2 separate regions of the Homo sapiens genome follow, and region 2 is linked to region 1. The links are contacts of gene promoters, found by promoter capture Hi-C in human tissues and cell types (Jung and others, 2019). All regions are on one chromosome and are shown on one strand. The core of a region is centred on a gene start or on the middle of the fragment in contact, and the rest is flanking DNA. Distances in the headings are between cores, read along the strand shown. Region 1 holds the start of BICD1 (BICD cargo adaptor 1). Region 2 overlaps BICD1 (BICD cargo adaptor 1).

Evidence for each region. The method cuts DNA at HindIII sites, captures the fragments that hold promoters and counts their contacts. A contact is called where the count stands out against the background at its distance.
Region 2: a contact is called between a fragment that was not itself captured here and the fragment with the promoter of BICD1 in region 1, in 1 of the 25 tissues and cell types used here (pancreas).

Annotation. Positions count from the first base shown.
Region 1 is chr12:32,105,198-32,108,681 of GRCh38, reverse strand. It overlaps BICD1 (BICD cargo adaptor 1), which reads right to left and starts at 1,835. Exons shown (of 10, transcript NM_001714.4): 1 at 1,138-1,835. The coding sequence starts at 1,350. It overlaps BICD1-AS1 (BICD1 antisense RNA 1), which reads left to right and starts at 1,220. Exons shown (of 3, transcript NR_185992.1): 1 at 1,220-1,288. RefSeq lists enhancers at 228-865, 1,393-1,472 and a silencer at 1,833-2,312. The HindIII fragment of the contact is 20,031 bases long and covers 1-3,484 here.
Region 2 is chr12:32,168,413-32,171,693 of GRCh38, reverse strand. All of the region lies in intron 1 of BICD1 (BICD cargo adaptor 1), which reads right to left. Among named protein-coding and RNA genes, the nearest start is that of BICD1-AS1, 63 kb to the right of the region's middle. The HindIII fragment of the contact is 6,487 bases long and covers 1-3,281 here.

The DNA of each region.
Region 1 (3,484 bases), core at 586-3,085:
CAAGTTGATTCAGTATGTCATAAATCACATCTTTTAACTGTAACAGCATAAAATAAATAATAGATTTTTGATATTATATGCCAAACAATAATTAACATTTAAATGTCAATATGCACCTAAAAATAAGGACTTGACACACAGAAAAGGAGTGTATATTACATTTAAATTTGTAAGTGGTTATTTGCTACCCATAGTGCCTCAAGAATCAGATAAAAAAGACCGAGTTACTTAAACAATATGTATGTTCTTAAGAGTGACTGATAGGAAATCAAAGCACGTTCATTGTTTTCTCCCATACATCCGACAGGCTTTAAAAGAGGCCAAATACCAAAAAACTAAAGAGACATTATACATCACCCATTTTTGATATTCTGGTTTTATAAATATATCATTTCAACCAGAAGAGCCTCATTTGAAATGCAACACTACCCACGTATTTGATATACACCACTCTTTCAGACTATTTGTAGGTGAGTTCAATTTTTTCTAGTCAGGGTGACCTCATAAGACTTGGACATGGCCCAGCCTCGCTCCGAGGTGAAATCAAGGCAGTGGGATCACCCAGCAAAGTTGTTTTTCTTCTGCAGCCCAATGACAAGAATGACTAAAGCCAAGCAGAATGAAGATTGCCTAGCCTTTGTCAAATGGGATTGGTGAGGAGTTCCCTCTCTCACCAAGGAGTGGTTACATCCAGAGGAAAGCTGAGGTGCCACACAGTCTAAATCCTGAAATTGTGGGTCCTCAGGCACAAACCTCATCACTTTTGTGGACTACGAAATTGTCGCTGAAACCTGGGTTTGAGATAACAGCGGTTTTGAGAAGTTTGATTTATACATTCCAACCCACTTGAATGTCGTCTTAGAGTGCTGAGACTTGATGACTCTTACTAATCTCCCTCCCCCGCAGGCCAAACAGCCATTGCCTCCCAAATTCCAGCTTATATATTCATTTCTTAGGCAATTTTTCTCTTGGGGGAGGAAACAATGGACTCTTTCAATCTTCTCTTACCAACAAAGGGCCCTAGAAGAAAAAACAGTCCTTTCAATCACCTCCTTTATGACTTCTTGATCATGATGAGTGGGCCTTGCGGGTGGGGGGAGTGAGGGCCAGGAAAGGGAGAGGTGACAGGCAACTCACCTCTTTGAGCTGCTCCAGCTCCTGTTTGAGGCTGTCGTACTCAGCCTCCAGTTCATCATACTGCTGTTTGAGGGTCAGCTTCTCCTCCAGCACCACCAGCCCGTACTCGGCAGCCTGGATCTTCTCGTGGGTGGTCTCCGTGAGCTCCTTGGTTAGCCTCTCTATCTCAGTCTTATAATGGTCCACCGTCTGCAATACCTCTTCTGCGGCCATAGCCCCGGTGGATGGAGGCAGGAGGGGGTTACGGGGTGGGGGAGATGGATGCGAAGCTGGCGGGGAAAGGGAGAAGGAAATGGGAAGGGATGGGTGGAAACGGAAAAGAAAGTGCGGCCGGATGAATGAGCAGCGCGATGCCCCGCCGGCTCTGGTGGCAGCGGCAGCTACACCGCCCGAGAAACTGACGAGAAATGCAACATGGAGAACAGGGCAGAGGGTCAGGGGCGAGGCGGCAAAGGCCGCCGCATGTGTCCTCGGGGCCGGCCCCTGCGTGCGGTCAGCAGCCGTGCGGCATGGCCCGGGCTGCGGCGGCCGCGGGTAGCGAGGGGCTCCGGATTCTGCTTATTCAGAGACGCCCGTCCGCCATGTCTCCCGGGCCGCGTCACTGCAGTCTCGCCCTGGGTCTGGCGCGCTCCGGCTCGCGGCTCGCTCTCTCGCTCCACCTGCTCCCTCTGGCCCTGCAGCAGCCGGTGCGGAATGATGCAGTCTCGGGGCCGGCTCCCTCCCTTCCCGCGTGGCGGCGGCTCCGAGCAGGGGGCGGGGAGCGGATGGAGTCAGCGCGGGGGGCGGAGGGAAGGACCAGACGGAAACATCCCGAGGCGCCTCCCGCCGGGCGCGCGGGCCGCCGCCCGCTGCACCGTGAGGCGCGCCAGGAGGAGGCGCAGGCGACGGGTCTGGGACTGGGAAGCGGTGGGGCGCGCGCGGCGGGGGAGCCTCCGCCCTGTCCGGCTCGCGGGGGCGGGAGCTCCTCCCAGGGCTTTGTCCCGGTGGCAGTAGAAGACCCCGAGAGCGGCGTGGGCGCCCGGGCTCTTTTGCTACGTCGAGGGCCGAAGCTCAGGAAACTGCCTGGAACGCTTTCTCCCGAGAAAAGCAAACAAAACTATCGCGGTCGCGGTCCGCGCATCCTCCTCGTCCCCTGGGCGCGCAGAAGGCTTTTTGGGCCACCTGCCCCCAAAAGACCGCTGGGTTTCCCAAAGCTTTCAAGACGCACCCCAAGGCGCCCTCCTCCGTCGTCCCCCTCTCTCCCTGCCTCTCCCAAGTCTGGCCTGGGCCACCTAACACTCTCACCAGATAACCTTACTATCCTCACAGGACAGTCCGCTAAATATTGCTCGCCCTCACCCAGCGTATCACAAGAGCGCTATCCACTCAGAAAAAAAATATCTCCACAATACATGCACCCAGGAAACCTCTAGCTAGGTACTGTATATCTTGCCCCAATAGTTTCCATCAAAGCACCTTACTCTGTGTCTTCAATAAAGGAAAACTGCTTGAAATTCCCTATATAAGATACCAACGATGCCCTGTAATAAGCATTTTTTAAACAATAAGAGCTAAGAGTTCTTGAGACCCATACCAAGCATTCTTCTAAGTATGTAACATGCGTTCTCTCCAATCCTAACAATGCTTTGAGGTAAGAGCCATTATCCTCAGTTTACAGGGGGTGAAAGGCAAAGGGAGATGTGATTTGTCCAAAGTCAGGCAACTCTGGAATCTTAACTCGGGAGCACTAAACGGGATCATTATGTTGGCTTCAGGTTCACTCATTACTCATACAAACCCAGCAACTACATATTACATGCTTTTAAGATAATCACATTAATCCATATGAAGAGTGATGATGAACGGTTACAAAAGGAGGTGAAAGCAAAGTAAGAGTGGAGTAAATGAAAGAGTGGAGAAGGGTCGAGAATCAAGAGGAAGAACGCAACATGAGAGAAAAGAAGCAATTTCTGTGTAACGGGAGGCTGTGAGACCCACAGATCAGTGGGTCTTTCCAGTTCCCTCTCTTCTTCTGCATGGCACCTATTCCAGAGCTGTTTCTCAGTGACCAGGTGATGAACACACATGCGTTTTCTAAGTTAGAAAGCAGGACTCAACTCTCCCATCATTGTGTACCTGGTAAAAAAAAAAAAAAAAAAAAAAAAGATGATTGTTGACCGGGCACAGTGGCTCACGCCTATAATCCCAGCACTTTGGGAGGCAGAAGTGGATGGATCATTTGAGGTCCGGAGTTCAAGACTAGCCTGGCCCACATGGTGAAATCCCATCTCTACTAAAAATACAAAAATTAGCCAGGTATGGTGGTGCACGCCTGTGATCCCAGCTACTTGGGAGGCTGAGGCAGGAG
Region 2 (3,281 bases), core at 349-2,848, 63 kb before region 1:
CCAAAGTGCTGAGATTATAGGTGTGAGCCACTGTGCCTAGCCTAGTTTATAATTTTTTAAACATAAATATAAAAACCACCAACAAAGAAAAGCACTCATATTGCCATCTCAGTCATAGCAGGACTGTGGCATAGCCTTACTGTGTACTCCAGACAAGGTGCCCCAACTGAGGAACCACAGAAGAAGAACGCCCTGAAGGCTGTGTCTGCAGACTTGAAGTGATAAGGAAAGGAAAGCATCACCATCTAGCTCTGCATAAGAATACCTAGTGCCACGCTCCCCAGGATCCTAATTTACAATGTGATTCCATTTTTAAAACAACAGCAAAGCTTTATTTCCAGGTCCCACAGCATCGCCTTCGGGGCCCAGCTGTGACTCCAAGACCAGGCTGGCAGTCCTGCCACGCCCTGGAACACTGGCAGAGGGAAAAGGGCATGGGACACCAGGCATGTGTTACTAAGTCTCCCACCTGATCGTGACGTGTGTCGCCTCTGTTCACATTTCATAGGCCCAAACAAGTCAAGTAACCATGTCTGCTTTCAACAGGCGGGAATGTAGAATTTCTCTATTGAGAGGCATCCCCAGGAGGAGCAGTAAACTTCTAAGAACGGTCTATCATAATAGACATCTTTGTCTTGTTCTCAGTTTTGAAGGGAAATTTCTCATCATTTTGCTATATTTTAAGAATGAATTTGGGCAATTAAATATTAAATCTTATATTTGAAGGTCAGGTCACAAACTCCCTGGAGTCTGAAAAATGACAGGATTGGCTAGATCAGGGCTTCTCGTCCTCGGCAGTAGTGACATGCTGGTGTGGGGGCTGTCCTGTACACTGTCGGGTTCTTGGCAGCTTTCCTGACCTCCATCCCTAGAAGCCAGTAGCACCCACCTCAGTTGTGACCAAAAATATCTCCGGAAATAACCAAATGTCTCCCTGGTTGAGAATCACTGGACCAGATAATCTCTAATGTCATTTCAAACTCTGAAATTCAATGCTCCACTAATCTCTCCTCAAACTGATAAGACCCTTTGCCAAATTTTGGTCACATAAAATTATGCCAGCCCAAGAACTCTACAATCCGTACAGTGGCATTGTGTAAAAAAGACTTCACCTGCTGAGGACATAGAATCTAGATCCATGAGCCTTCTAATACGCTAACTACAATTCTATAACCTTTAAAGAGTTGAGTACAATGCAGAGAAATGACTAAATAATATTGTTGTAGAAGGTGAGGAATCAGGTCTTTTTATATAAGTAATGTTTAGGCTCTGGCCCAAGAAGGTTTTGTTCATAAGTGGCTCAGACATATTTTATTTATTGAATGTATATCCTGCCTCATTCCAAAAAGCATTTAAGGCAGCTTACAAAGAGGCATACAAAATAAAATGGAAAGGAAGTAAGAAAAATAGGGGGAAACAGGTAAGGAACAGAGAAAACAAATATTCCAATCCAAAAAGTCAATACCATTTCTGTGACTCTAGCAGTTATTTTTTCTTTTTCAGAGCATGAAACTGAGCTCAGAATTTCAGGATGCCTAAGAGAAAGTTGGAAATAAAATAATTAATTTGCCTTCTCAGAGAAGGGAATTATTTGCTAGTGAAACAAGGTTTTTCTTAGGATTAAACTCAGGGACAGGTTTCATGTGGGCCCTGTGTGGGGAACAAGTGTGAAAAGGACCCGTGTCAACTCCACATTCTCGCCTCTACAGTGTCACAGCTAAGCCTGTTCTTATATGAACTTTAAATACAATTTAAAAGCATAACTTTGAAACACAGTTTGGTGAAAGTGTATCTTGGGGGCCAGGCGCAGTGGCTCATGCCTGTAATCCCAGCACTTTGGGAGGCTGAGGCCAAGTCAGGAGGATCACTTGAGCCCAGGAGTTCAAGACCAGCCTGGGCAACACAGTGAGACTCTGTCTCAAAAAAAGGAAGTGTATCTTTGGAAGCTAAAGCCACATGGGTAGAACTTTTTAACAAAAGCTGTCCAGCGACCTAGGTTATCAAAGGATAATATATCATTTTCCTACAGAAATAATTTTTCAAAGTGTGGTTAGCAGAGAAAACTTTTCTTCAAAGAGAACCTTCTAGAAAAGTCTAGTATATAAAATGGGTCCAGGCTGGGCACAGTGGCTCACGCCTGTAATCCCAACACTTTGAGAGGCCGAGGCGGGAGGATCGCTTGAGCCCAGGAGTCTGAGACCAGCCTGGGCAACATAGCAGAGAGCTCGTCTCTACTAAGAAAAAAAAAATTAATGGAAAAAATGGGTCCAGGCCAAGCTGCTTCTTCCCTTCCTTTCACTCTCTCCCCTCCTCAGAAGGCCTCAGAAGGAGAACTGAATTCTCCTGTGGCAGAATTCAAAAGCCACTAGCCTGAAAATAAAACTTCAAATACCTAGAAAAGATTCAACAGTTCAATAAATATTTATTGTGCTAAGTATCAGAGTAGGTAAATTTTATCTATTATTTTTCTTGAAAATAATTTTTCCATTGATCTTTTTACGAGATAATTAACCGTTCCAGGTACAATTCCCCATCAGAGCCTGAGTGCTCACTGAACCCAGATCCTTAAACTCCACAGAGTTAATCACAGAGCCCACCTTCTACTACAGAAACTAAAGCTCCTGAGCAGATTCCATGCAGGGGCAAGGCTGTCCCATCTCCTCACAACAGATGGGCACAAAGCAAGGGTTTTTCTCAATGGTCAATTTTGGGTTTGTTTGTTTGTTTGTTTGAGATGAAGTTTCGCTCTTGTTGCCCAAGCTGGAGTGCAATCGCGCGATCTCGGCTCAATGCAACCTCCGCCTCCCGGGTTCAAGCGATTCTCCTGCCTCAGCCTCCCGAGTAGCTGGGATTACAGGTACCCGCCACAAACACCTGGCTAATTTTTGTATTATCAGGGTTTCACCATGTTGGCCAGGATGGACTCAAACTCCTGACGTCAGATGATCCACCTGCCTTGGCCTCCCAGAGTGCTGGGATTACAGGAGTGAGCCACCGTGCCTGGCCCTCAAGGGTCAACTTTGGATACACAGTGGACCCGATTAAGAGAGTGGTTCACATCCCAAGTTCCTGCCTTGCTCAGCATGGCTGAGACAGTTTGGGCCTGAAATGTTTTCAGCACAAATGTTATCAGTGATCGACCGCTGTTAGGACTTTCTGGTTCCTGTTCTCAGGCAACTGTTCTCACCTCAATCTCAAGGACACCCAACCCCACCCTCCCATCCTTTTCCCATGAAGCCCGGGTTGAAACCACTGAGCAGTTGGCTTCCATGCCTTGCCCT